3 separate regions of the Homo sapiens genome follow, and all the other regions are linked to region 2. The links are contacts of gene promoters, found by promoter capture Hi-C in blood cells and fetal thymus (Javierre and others, 2016). All regions are on one chromosome and are shown on one strand. Each heading gives the region's core, a stretch centred on a gene start or on the middle of the fragment in contact. The rest is flanking DNA. Distances are from core to core; before and after follow the strand shown.

Region 1 (4,097 bases), core at 380-2,879, 520 kb before region 2:
GCATTTTCTTTCAATACACTTAGAGGAAAGTGAAATATTTTTCTTACACATGTTCCCATGAACTGGGGCAAAATTAAGAAAACTCCACATATTCCAGGAGAAATAAGAGAGTATGTTTCTTGGTGCAGGTAGAAACTGATCTTAATTTCATCAAATGAATAAAGTGTGGACAGATGGAACTTGAAGGCACCCAGATGAAGCCAATTGCTTCTCTCATGACCAGCCTTCTCCTCTCATGTCCATTATTTATGTGAAACTCAGAAGGAGCCACAGCAGCCATGCAGAAGAACCCAGGGGGCATCTGTGGCACCAGGGCAATCGGACTGCCTCTGGCTGGACCTTGGCAGGGGATGGTACCTGTACACAGAGGGCACATGCAGCCTGAGGGGCATAGGCTGCCAGCCAAAGGCCTGGGTTTCGAGTCCAGCTCTCACATTTACTGCTGCGTGGACTTGGACAGGTTGCATGCTAAGATGGCATTGGGCTCAGTAGCAAGTGCTCACGGTGTTGGCTGCTACCGTTAGGGATTTGACTGAGGGAGCCCAAGAATGAAAAGAGCTCGATTTCTGCCAGCTCAGTTGGGTGGGGGACTCAAGACTTGTCATTAAGTTGATTTATATTTTAAAAAGTGACATTTCCTGCACATTTGGGTTTTTGGCTGAACATCTAAGCATTGTGACAACGTGCAGGTATAAAGGAGTACAGGAGCATAAGGCCTTCAGCCTGCTGGCTGAGCCTGTGTGACTACCAAAGTTCCTCCAGGCTAAGGACCTGGACATGGGGCCTGTAAACTTGGATGGGAAAAAAATTACATCTCTGTTCTCTAACCTCTAAGGAACACTTAGCATCTTCTTCTAATAGTAGTGTGGCAAACGAACCACAGAAACATTACCACCCAGTAACTTTATTTCTGGTAGGAATCACAGGTCTTTCCATCCACATTCCAGCTGTTACAGGTATCTCTCAATATCGATTCCATTTATCACCATGTCGAGATGGTGGTAGCTGTTTCATCTGCTGCCAGATCTTGCTATTTACTGTGTGGATAAATAAGCATGTATATTTCTACTTCACAAGTTTAACAAAATATTTTGATAACTGTGTGTTAATACTACTGATTTCTACTATGATCCTTATCTATTTTAGTTTGGGGATTTAAAAATCTTATTCTGAGAAGAGAGTGATAGGCATTCCTAGACTCAGAGGCTCCCATGGCACAAAAACAGTGACCGAGCTGGACTATTGGCTGGAGGGGCATTTCCTATTTCTGCTCCAAGGCAGAGGCTACTGCAAGGGCTGGACTGCAGGGCAGACCGGCTTTGCCCACATTCCTCTCTGAGACTTACTAGCATGGGTCATTAGGCAAGAAACCGCACCTTACCGAGCTTTGTTCCCACACTCTGTGGGGAAGATTATAGGAGAGAACACTGGGTATAATACCCCAGCATGTACAATGGGTCTAATCACAGCCAGCTTCTGGTGGAGTCCAGAATGACAGGGGCTTCCTTCAGCCCTGTCTTCAGAGAGGCTGAGAGGAACTGAACAGCCTCCTGGCTGTGACAGTGGTTTCCTTCCCCATCAGTCACGTGGGTCTTGTCCTGTCCCCAGAGCCTTGGGTCACATGGCTCATTGTGCCTGCGCTGCCAGCAGCCAGGAGCCAGGAGCCAAGAGCAGAGCGCCAGCATGAACTTGGGGGTCAGCATGCTGAGGATCCTCTTCCTCCTGGGTAAGTGGGGACTGCGGGGGTCTCTGGCCCGGGGGAGCCTCAGTGGGCAGGAAACTGGGGGAGCCTTAGCCCACTGGGGCTTGATCCCTAAAACATAACTCTGTCCCTTTACACAGATGATGTTTCTCACTTTGATCTGGTAGTGAGCAATGATCTTGTTTGTCTCATTCCAGCTGCAACTTACAAATGCTTCTGGGCTAAAGGAGAATAGGAAGGGTCATGGCAGAAGGAGCTTCGGGCTTGGGATCTAGAAACATCTGGGTGTAAACTGTGGCTCCATTGCTGATAAACTAGAATAAGCTTCTGAAACTCCCTAACTTTCTGAACCAATGAGATGGGAGATAATCATGTTTACTTTTTGGGATTTCAAGAGAGTTAAGTTAAATTTAATTAAGTCAAATCAAAATACTGACATAGAATGAGAACATGTAGGCATGTAGATACTGGTATACATTTAATGTTGAATCAGAATTCTCATGCAGTGAAGCAGACTCTTTGCTACTCAGAGGTATCTTTGTTTTTAAAAATTATCTTTAATGCATTCCTTGAAAGAAGGAAGAAAGGAGAGAGGCAAAGACTAAAACAAAGTAGGGCCAAATGGAGGAGAGAAATATAAAGTCAGAGAAGTAGACAGAGAGGAAGAAACTCAAAGAGAGAGAGAGAGAGACAGACAGAGACATAGAGAGATGGTTAGAAATATGCATAGATGGAGACAGAGATGGAGAGAGACACATGCCTTTACGAAGTCCCCTCTGATATCAACTGTTGTTTCCTAAAAAGGCAGCATACGTCCCTCATATATACAAAGACGTTCCTTCCCAGAACTTGCACTGGGCCGAGACTCAATGGGAAGCAGTCTGTCTCCAGATTAAATCTTGTGTCTCCAGACCAATAGGTTGTATCCTGAATGCGGGCAAAGTTAGTGCTGTGGGCAGGTTTCCATCTAAAGTCTGCACTAAGCAGGGGAGAGCAAAGACTTTGGCCTTGGGAGTCAGCATGTCAGACAGACAGCCAGCCACATCATCCATCAGTTTACACATGGAAACGGGCCGTTGGCAGTGACTGTGAAGGGATGTCAGGCACCAGCAAGCAGCGATTAAGGGTGTGCACGGTGGTTAGATGCAGTGTGCCTGCCCAGAGACGTGGTGGAAGGTAAGAGAAGTTGTAACCCTTATTTCTGCTTTTGACTTACCTAGATAAACAAACTAGTCTGTCCTGGTACAAAAAAAGGAAGTTAAATTTAAGAAATCCAATGAAAAATGTGCAAATTATATAAACAGGCAATTCATTGAAGAATCACAGACAATAAAACTTTAAAATGTCCAGTCTCACAAATAATAAAAGATCTAACACCTCCTCGCATTTTTTAGTGTGTCGATGTGCTGGGTGCTCTGCTGAAGATGTTACATGAGCTCATTTGGTTCCCACAGCAACTCTGTGCAATAGGTGCCACAATTACCTGCATGTTATAGATAAGGTTTTAATCACTGGGCCAAGGCATCACAGCTCGTTTCTGCTTTCATATACTATTGATAGAGGTACACAGTGGTTAGGAGTGGGTATCCAGTACGAGACTCCTTAAATGTTCATCCCTGTTCTGTTGTTTACCAGCCTGGAAAACTTGGACAAAGAATTAATCCTCTCTGTGCCCAGTTTTCTCATCTGTAAGTTGGGGACACCTCACAGGACTATTGGGAAAATGAAATCTGTTACCACATTTAAAGCACTTAGCATGGGATGTGATAAGTGGTGAGCACTCACTATTGGATATGAGGGGACTCATTTATTCACTCTCTCCAGAGGGCAATTTGGCAAAATCTGGGTGTCAATGTAAGCGAAATGTAAGATGTTCATAACCCTTCACCCAGAAATTCCACCTCCAGGAATATAACCTGATGAAATAATATGGTAAAACCCTCCCAAAATATTTCACAGGGTATTATTCAACACTGCCGAAACCACGGTGGGAACCAGAAACAAGAGACTATCAGTAGGAATTTGACTAAGTTAATTATGCTTTAGTATTTCCAACAATATCCAATATATTTAGTTGAAAGACATGCCTTTCTATGAGCTGACACGGATGAAACAGAAGTGATGAAGTGATAGTTACAGGTTAGAGTTCCGTAGTAATATTTTGCATGTGTTTAGTCTCCTTCTTCTTCCTCTTTTTCTTCTTCTTCCTCTTCTTCTTCTTCTTCTTCTTCTTCTTCTTCTTCTTCTTCCTCTTCTTCTTCTTCCTCTTCTTCTTCTTCTTTTTCTTCTTCTTCTTCTTCCTCCTCCTCCTCCTCTTCCTCCTCCTCCTTCTTCTTCTTGAGATGGAATTTTGCTCTTGTTGCCCAGGCTGGAGTGCAATGGCGCGATCTCGGCT
Region 2 (4,772 bases), core at 1,880-4,379:
AAATGTGGGGATAATTGCTGTAAATATTGATGGGCGTAACTTTGTCACCCACCAAGATCAATTGCCTTTTGCTTCCAGAAATTTCTTGTGAAAAACCCCAAAATTAAAATATTTGTTATTTACCCTTCTGTGAATTTATCCTAAGAAAATGATCCAACATTGAGAAGGCTTCTTATACATTTGCTTCAAACCTTTTTTTTTTTTTTTTTTTGAGGCGGAGTCTTGCTCTGTCGCCCAGGCTGGAGTGCAGGGCGCGATCTCGGCTTACTGCAAGCTCTGCCTCCAGGGTTCATGCCATTCTCCTGCCTCAGCCTCCCAAGTAGCTGGGACTACAGGTACCCACCTCCCCGCCTGGTTAATTTTTTGTATTTTTAGTAGAGACGGGGTTTCACGGTGTTAGCCAGGACGGTCTTGATCTCCTGACCTGGCCATCTGCCCGCCTCGGTCTCCCAAAGTGCTGGGATTACATGAGTGAGCCACCACACCCGGCCTTCAAACCATTTTTTAAATGATAGAAGAATATGGGCCCATAAATAAACACAAAAGTAACTCCTCATGTGGAAAAGTGCTCTCTGCATATTGGAAATAATCTGAAGTGTTCAATCTTAGACTTTAAAGTAACATGGTATACAGTGAGTAATATGCTGTTTCAGACATCATTTTTAATACCGTAAGGATATGCTTAATTTATAATGTTAAGTTAGAAAGCAGGTGAGCAGTCTGGCTGCAGGCACCGGCTCTGGGGTTGAAGTGCCTGGGTGGGAGTCCTGCCTCTGTGCCTTACTGGCTGCCTGACCTTCAGTTCTGTAAGCCTCGGCTTCCTCATCTATCCAATGGGTACTACAGCAGTAGCCTTCTTTCTGAGTGGTTTCAAGGGAAGCAGTGGAATGGCTCCCAGCACCCAGCACATAGTGAGTCTTCAACATTATTTATAACCAGCTTTGTCACTGCATCCATGGCAAATCAATCCACTGACAAAACGCTGGAGAGAAATGCTACAAACTGCCCAGTCTTAGTATCTGAAGCAGTTAAAATAATACAGGGAAGAGATCTTACTGTGTGGAAATCTCATGAAATGAACAGCATACTCACTGCTAAAGGAGACTTGTGGCTGTCAGCTAACCATTTACTTAAATATCAGGCTCTATTACTTGAAGGGCCAGTGCTGCAACTGCGCACTTGTGCAACTCTTAATCCAGCCACATATGTCCCAGACAATGAAGAAAAGATAGAACATAACTGTCAACAAGTAATCGCTCAAACCTATGCCACTTGAGGGGACCTTTTAGAGGTTCCCTTGACTGATCCCAACCTCAACTTGTATACTGGTGGAAGTCCCTTTGTAGAAAAAGGACTTTGAAAAGCAGGGGTTGCAGTGGTCAGTAATAAAGGAATACTTGAAAGTAATCCCCTCACTCCAGGAACTAGTGCTCAGCTGGCAGAACTAATAACCCTCACTCGGGCACTAGAATTAGGAGAAGGGAAAAGGGTAAATATATATACAGACTCTAAGTCTGCTTACCTAGTCCTCCATGCCCATGCAGCAATATGGAGAGAAAGGGAATTCCTAATTTCCGAGGGAACACCTATAGAACATCAGGAAGCCATTAGGAGATTACTATTGGCTATACAGAAACCTAAAGAGGTGGCAGTCTTACACTGTTGGGGTCACCAGAAAGGAAAGGAAAGGGAAATAGAAAGGAACCGCCAAGCGGATCTTAAAGTCAAAAGAGCCGCAAGGCAGGACCCTCCATTAGAAATGCTTATGGAAGGGCCCCTAGTACAGGGTAATCCCCTCCGGGAAACCAAGCCCCAGTATTCAGCAGGAAAAATAGAATAAGGAACCTCACAAGGACATACTTTCCTCCCCTCCAGATGGCTAGCCACTGAAGAAGGAAAAATACTTTTGCCTGGAGCTAACCAATAAAATTACTTAAAAGCCTTCACCAAACCTTCCACTTAGGCATCGATAGCACCCATCAGATGGCCAAATTATTATTTACTGAACCAGGCCTTTTCAAAACTATCAAGCAGATAGTCAGGGCCTGTGAAGTGTGCCAAAGAAGTAATCCCCTGCACTGCAGGCCATACATTTCAATCCCTGTATCTTTAACCGCCTTGTTAAGTTTGTGTCTTCCAGAATTAAAACTGTAAAACTACAAATCGTTCTTCAAATGGAACCCCAGATGCAGTCCATGTCTAAGATCTCCCGCGGACCCCTAGACTGGCCTGCTAGCCCATGCTCTGGTGTTAATGACATCGAAGTCACTCCTCCTGAGGAAATCTCAACTGCACAACCCCTACTATGCCCCAGTTCAGCAGGAAGCAGTTAGAGTGGTCATCAGCCAACCTCACCAACAGCACTTGGGTTTTCCTGTTGAGAGAGGGGACTGAGAGACAGGACTAGCTGGATTTCCTAGGCCGATTAAGAATCCCTAAACCTAGCTGGGAAGGTGACCGCATCCACCTTTAAACACGGGGCTTGCAACTTAGCTCACACCCAACCAATCAGAGAGCTCACTAAAATGCTAATTAGGCAAAAACAGGAGGTAAAGAAATAGCCAATCATCTATTGCCTGAGAGCACAGTGGGAGGGACAAGGATTGCAATATAAACCCAGGCATTCGAGCCAGCAACGGCAACCGCCTTTGGGTCCCTTCCCTTTGTATGGGAGCTCTGTTTTCACTCTATTTCACTCTATTAAATCTTGCAACTGAAAAAAAAAAAAAAACTGCCCCCAGTAGTTGTTGCTGGGTGGTGGCACTGGGGGAGATTTCAGTCCTTGATCCTGCCTTTGTGGGATAGGATTCTCCCTCCCTCCTAGTCCTCTACAGTCCCCTACACTTTTCCTATTGCTCATCCATTCTGCAAATTGCTCTGTTATAATTTCCTCCTTGCCATTTTGATTAGTGAGCTCTTGAGTCAGGGAATTTTTCTTGTTTATCTCCATAGCCATAGCCCCTAGTACAGACCTAAGAAATAGTAGGTGCTCAATCAAACATTTAACAGTCAAGTTTTCCCAAGCTTTATTGAGGAGTGTTTCAGATATCTGCTGCTACATAACAAAATATGGTGGTTTGAAATAACAACTACTTATTATTTCTCACAATTCTGTGGGACAGGAAGCAGGCAGGGCTTGGCTGGGGGGTTCTTCTGCTCCACACAGCATGGACTGAGAGCCACCTGGCTGCATTCACTAGGGGGCTGGGAGCTCGAATATCCAAGGGAAGCTTTATTCACAAGACTGGTGCCTCAGTGCTCTTCCTTTGCAGACTCTCTTTCCCTCCATGCCCTCTCATCATTCGTTAGACAGTGCAAATCTTATAAAATATGACAGCTTGGCTTCCAGAGAGAAAGACAGTGAAGCTTCCAGGCTTCTTAGGGTCTACATGCAGAACTACTGTAGCATCATTTCCACCTCTTGGCAGGAGGAAGGGCATGAGCACACTGACAGGGAAGGGATTTGGAGGGCCATCTCTAAAGAAACTAATGCTTGATAAATTTTTTAAAAAACAAGAAGAAAGCATTTTCCAAAAGTAACACTAGGATAAGCTGGTCTGGAAGCAGCATTGGTTGAAGTCTTTGCCCTTGCATTTCAGAGTGGCACGGAGTCCAAGGCATAACTGCAGTAGCAGATCCCTGGCCCAGGAGCAGCAAACCCAGAAGTCTCCCTGCAGCGAGGTTGTGCTCTACTTCACAGGGAGAGACCACAGAGCTGGGCTCCCAGTGGACCCACAGAGAATCCTGTGCAGCTCATTTCCCCAAAAGCTTCTGAGCCCCAGCATCTGTGTGCTATTCCTGAGTGGAAAGACCAAGGTGAGCAAGGCAGCCTCCATATGCTCTGACAGCTCAGCCTGCTGGAGGGTAAGGTGTAAACCTGGTGACACATGGCCATGGAGTCAGCAGTGACTTCATACCCACATAAGAACTAAGATGCTACCTGTCCAGGAAACCAAGGAGGGCCCTATCTTGGACTCTACACTTTGAGGGCCCATGAGAACCCAAACAGCACACATCTATTCATGGATGTATGGAATGGGCACCTCTGTTCCTCGAGAGGTGTGCCCAGTGCTGCCCTGCATGACCCATGGCCCTGACCCTGCACACCTGCTCACTGGACTGGCATTGTCCAGCACCTCATCTCTTGCCCTATGTATGTCCTCAAAAGAAAATGTGATTGGATCCAAATGTTATGGATTTGGCTTGCAGGATCAGCTTAGGTTTATGGGTTGTGCCATTGCCAGCAGGAACATTGCTTCCATGTCTAGGAGGAATTGAACGTGGAAGCAATAGGAAAAAAATCTAAACTTCCAGAGGCTTCCTCTCAGATCACCTAAATGTAGTAGGTTCTCCATAAGAAATCTCATCTCTGAATAGTGCCAGACATGTATTTTTTTTTCTGCTCTTTGAGTTCAAATTCATAGTTTCATAGGTACTTATATATCATTGCAAAATTCACAATGGTTCTTCATTGCAGCCTGGAAATATTTCATGCTATTAAACAGCTCACTCCCTCTTAGATGCATATGTGTTGTTCTGGATGTATAATGTCACTTGCGTGAAGTATGACATAGATTCTTCATAGCACCCACTAGATGCAAAACAAACACCAGAAATGCTAACAGTTTAATTTTTAGATTTATTTTTTATTTTTAAAATCACAATAAGAATTTAATTTTATCAAATAATGTTTTTTAATTTTTTGTATTCTTTAATTATCATATACATTTTGCTTTTTGATTTTTTAGAGAAATCTTTAAAACTGTAGTAAT
Region 3 (4,398 bases), core at 1,000-3,499, 630 kb before region 2:
CCCAGTTCTGGTGCCACCAGCAGGCTTGGGTTCTTGAGATTTCTGGCAGAGACTGGAGGAATAGGGCTATTTCAAGACATGAGGCCTCCCCTCTTCAGTAAGGGTCTCCAGGGCTTCCTTAGGGTCAGGAAAAGACAAAGACACTTACTTCTGTCCTGGCAAAAAGAAATCAAGGTGGGAGGATGCAAGGCCATCTCTGGCCTTCCTGTCTACTCTCAACAGCTTTCTCTCCCCAGGTTCCAGGAGACCTAAGCCCCTCTGCTCCAGGACACAGCATTCTACCAGCCCCCTTCTTACCCACCGCACACAGTTGTTCCCTTCCCAGTGAGCTTCTGGTCATCCAAGAGCAGACAAACTTGTTCCCAGAGACCCAGGGGCAGATGTGTGTTGGACTTGGGTCACCCGGGGAAGGCTATTTATAAATCACCCCGATAAGCACAATCTGCCCTGCTCAGCCCAGGCCACATGGACACGCTGTGTGTCTGGTGATTCTACTGCTAAGCTAACCCTCCCAGCACCGTGACAGCAAACTGGACATTTCCTGTATCAGCCAGGCCTAAAAAGTGGGCCCTGGAAGGTGCAGGAGGCTCAGGAGCCAGCCAGCCACTGGTCCTGAAGGGTCTGGCTTACAAACTATTCTAACAGCAAGAACTTTCACTGCTTTTTTTTTTTTTTTTTTTGTATTAAATTGACCCATCTCAAGATGTGTTCTTGTAACACAGTGGTCAGCAAACTTTTTCTGTAAAGGGCCACATTGTAAGCGTTTTCAGTTTTGCAGGCCATATGGTTTCTGCTGATATAGTGTAGAAGCAGCTTTAGACAATATGCAAATGAATGAAGGTGGCTGTGTGCCAATACAACTTTATTTACAAAACCAGATGCTCAGACCACAGACCAGAGTTACCAGCCACTACTGCAAAGGGAACTCAAATGCTGGAAAACAGGACCTCATTTACTACACACATCTGTTTAATCTGCTTCCCAGGTTCCTATACTTAGGGAGCTACCTGAAAGGCCTACACAATGATTTTTCTTAAGGCTATCTAGCTTTCCACACACATTGACCACTGCCGTTCTCAATGTTCAATTCTTCTCCACCAGAAAATAAAAGAGGTAATTTTAGACTCAGTCAAGCATACCCTGTGGGAGTCTGGTGGGGGCCCTCCCAGGGTGTGTAAGAACAGGCAGCCTGTGGCGGGCTTTGTTTTGGGGACACACATGCTCGCAGAGCCCACAGGCCAGAACGTCTCAGTCACCAGTTTTTCTCTTTGTTACAGCTGGTGTGACCCTGCCTGGCCCAGCGCTGGGGGAGCTAAGAAAGCCAGCCTCCCTCAGCCCTGAATGCTGAAAACCTGGGACCATGGGGTCACCCATTTGACAGCGCAGTGGCCTGGGCACATCTGTGCACTCAGCCATGTGGGAGCAGAGATCCCTGACAGATGACACCTAAGGACAAAGTCACACATGTACACGGTTCCGGGTACGTGGTCCCCGAGGCCCATCCAGCACACCAAGAACCTTAGCCCCAACACCAATGGGCTCCCGGCACACACATACCACCCTGCACAGCACCCTGGCACCGAACTACTTCCCCAGCACAGCATCGGCCCAGCGGGAACATCCCTCCCGCCATGAACTTGAGCCTCCCTGCCCACGCTAAGGAGCCAGACAAGTGTCTGGGCTGTACCTTCCGCTCTCTGCGTGTCCAGCTGCTCAGGCCTCCTCGGGAATGGGAGAGAAACCCGGCTCTGCCCAGCAGCCAAGACTTCTTTCCTCTTTATCCAGGCTGCCCAAAGGTGATAGGAGAGTGGATTCAGGACCCAAGCCTCCTCTAGCTCACAAACCTACCCACCTGAGGAAGATCAGTGACCAGAAGCCGGCCAGACACGGGAAGTCCGCGAAGCTTACCTAAATAGAGACCCAGCCGGGGGAAACCAAATGGTGTTCTTGGTGGGGAAGAGGCAAACAGTCCGCACTGCAACACCCGCGTGGTGTCAAGTAACAGTCAGATTAAACAAACAGCCTCAGCTGCTATTTTTACTTCCAAATCAGCCACGAGTAACAGATCACTTGGGGAGTGAGAAATTGCTTGCCGCTTAGCCGGACCCTAACCACGATTCCAACTTCAATCCAGAATGATTGCTAAAGCTATTCCAGCACCTAGAGTCAAATAAAAATATCCCGAGGTGGGAAGGAAAACATTTGTTTAGGGAAACATTAAAAACAGGAGAGTGTGTGCCTTGGAGCCAGAGCCCAGAGCCCTGCTGATGTCCCGGGGCAGAAATAGCCCGTTTCATCATCGGCTCTGGACGACCGCCGCCCGCATTCCTCGAGTAAGGAGCCGTCCTCTGCTGTGCTTTTGGAGCAGAATAATCTGCAGCTAGGGGAAGGCCAGGCTGGGTCTCAGGGTGAGAGTTACAGAAGGATATGAAATAATCGGGGAAGAGGCAAGGTAAGTGTCCACTTGGTAAGCTTGGCTACAGCAAGCCCGGTTGTTTGCAAAGTCCAAGCACCAGTGGACAAGTCCCGTTCTGCCAGGCTCCCCTCTCCACCTCTGGGAAGGGCTGGCCTCCCTTCAACCCTGAGGTGGGCTCATGCCTGCCTTCCCAATGGCTGCTTTCTGTCTCAGGCTGGGGTCACCTGCTCCCCAAACTGCCCACAGATCCCCCAACTTTTTCCACTGGCTTTTCCTTGGCTTGTGCCATGCCAGCTCCCAGAGTGCCTTCCTTACTCTCCCAAGCTGGCCCTAGGATAGTCTGCTTGCTACCAGGATTTAATGCAAGAGTGGGTTTTTTTCCCCCTTTCTCTCCAAGGTTCTTTTTTATGCTTCCCTGACTGTGGCCTGAGAAAGCGGAGATGACTGGCCCCCGCTGGGTGTCCTGCTCTGTGCAGCGCTCAAAGCCTCTGCAAGTTTGCAGTGTGCTGTGTCTTTGGGTCTATTTGTAGACTGTCCCTTCTGCCCCTGTGGGCTCTTCAAGGGCAGCAACCTGTGTCCCAGCCCCAAGCTGGGGCCTGGCACCACCTCCAGCCTTGAACCGGCTGACAGCCAGGGCCACAGGGACCCAGGTCTATGTACTTTTGTCTAAACCAAGTCACAAAGAACAGCTCCTCCTTGCCCTGCAGACTAAGGTGTGAGATTCCAACCAGCAGGAGCATTCAGACCCGCCTCCTCCTGGGAGCCTCAAGACTTGCCTTTTGCCCTGAGAGCTTCAGAACCTCGCTGTGGGGATGATTACTTGCTGCTCCGCACTCAGAGATGCTTTGAGGGAGGCCCAAAGTGAACCCCTCAATTTTACCCACCCACCTCCCTACCTCCCCATTTGCCAAAACAAACGCATGCCAAAAGGTCAGACAAAAGCCATCAACTTGAGATGGGAGCCAACATTTAAAAAGTACACAGGATTTTGAGCCCTGGCTCCATTATTTCCTGGTCAGTTGACATGTCACATACTTACCCTTCCTGAGCCTCAGTTTACCCATCTCTAAAGTGGAGAGAATGCCTGTGCTCTGTGGGATTCAGGGTCAGGGGAGCTCATGTACATGAATATGCTCGTCTATTGCAAAGCTTCCCAAAATGTTAGTCATTTATTTGTTATTTTTTCCCATGATTTTTGCTACACCTCAACCATCTGTATCAACATTTACTTACTATTTTCCTTTAAAGAAAATTTAAATTGACTTGCTTTTTTTCTTGAACAGAAGAACTTTATGGAAAACAACAATACTTAATAGATCATGGATTTGACATATTTGTTAATTTCCCTCCCTCCCAGTACACATTGAAACAAATTTACAGTCAGTTCATATGTCATCTGTTTGACCCAAATCATTTTGTTCCAGATGTTAGAAAATGTTGCATTACTAAACCTCATTTTATGGAGGAGTTTGCTTTGGGGTGTGAGTAACATGAGCTGAAAGCTTCGGCAGGGCCGCTGGTCTTCCTAATTTGCTTTCCTCCCCTCCTCAGCACCTTCCTTCCCCAGCTTACGTTTCATTCTTCACAGGTGGAGAGCATGACCTCATGTCTTGTTTAGGATCCTAGAAACAGCAAGCTTTGCTCTGCAGCAGGAGCGAATGGTGTTTGCTTGAAGTGGCTGATTGAGGAAAGAGCACCGTGGGATGGCTGGGGAATGTTCCGGGGGCCGGGCACTGGCGGGTAGCTTTGTCAATGACATCAGCAGGAGGGGTAGGGAGAGAATAATAAAACACAGTTGACCCAGCAAGAGCCTGTCCTAGGAGCAGGCAGCCCTCAGAGCTTGGCTGGAGGCTCCAACCAGCAAGCCTGAGCATAGCTGACACCTGCAGAATCTAATTTCTCCTGGATGTTCCCCCACCTGCCCTGTGTAATAGACTCTATGTCTGTGTCAGTTACAGCGGGTATCCTGATGCAGACCATCC

Evidence for each region. Contacts are between HindIII fragments. The CHiCAGO score rates a contact against its expected background, and 5 or more counts as called.
Region 1: the fragment with the promoter of TMEM273 here is called in contact with a fragment that was not itself captured in region 2 in 2 of 17 cell types (fetal thymus and monocytes); the score reaches 7.0 in fetal thymus.
Region 3: the fragment with the promoter of C10orf71-AS1 here is called in contact with a fragment that was not itself captured in region 2 in 1 of 17 cell types (megakaryocytes); the score reaches 7.1 in megakaryocytes.

The regions. Positions count from the first base shown.
Region 1 is chr10:49,185,923-49,190,019 of GRCh38, reverse strand. TMEM273 (transmembrane protein 273) reads left to right here and starts at 1,629. Exons shown (of 7, transcript NM_001288740.3): 1 at 1,629-1,726. The coding sequence starts at 1,684. The HindIII fragment of the contact is 10,255 bases long and covers 1-2,028 here.
Region 2 is chr10:48,663,240-48,668,011 of GRCh38, reverse strand. No RefSeq gene overlaps it. Among named protein-coding and RNA genes, the nearest start is that of WDFY4, 19 kb to the left of the region's middle. The HindIII fragment of the contact is 206 bases long and covers 3,027-3,232 here.
Region 3 is chr10:49,296,744-49,301,141 of GRCh38, reverse strand. C10orf71-AS1 (C10orf71 antisense RNA 1) reads left to right here and starts at 2,249. Exons shown (of 2, transcript NR_108038.1): 1 at 2,249-2,452; 2 at 4,369-4,398. C10orf71 (chromosome 10 open reading frame 71) reads right to left here and starts at 1,972. Exons shown (of 3, transcript NM_001135196.2): 1 at 1,909-1,972. RefSeq lists a silencer at 3,919-4,096. The HindIII fragment of the contact is 569 bases long and covers 1,906-2,474 here.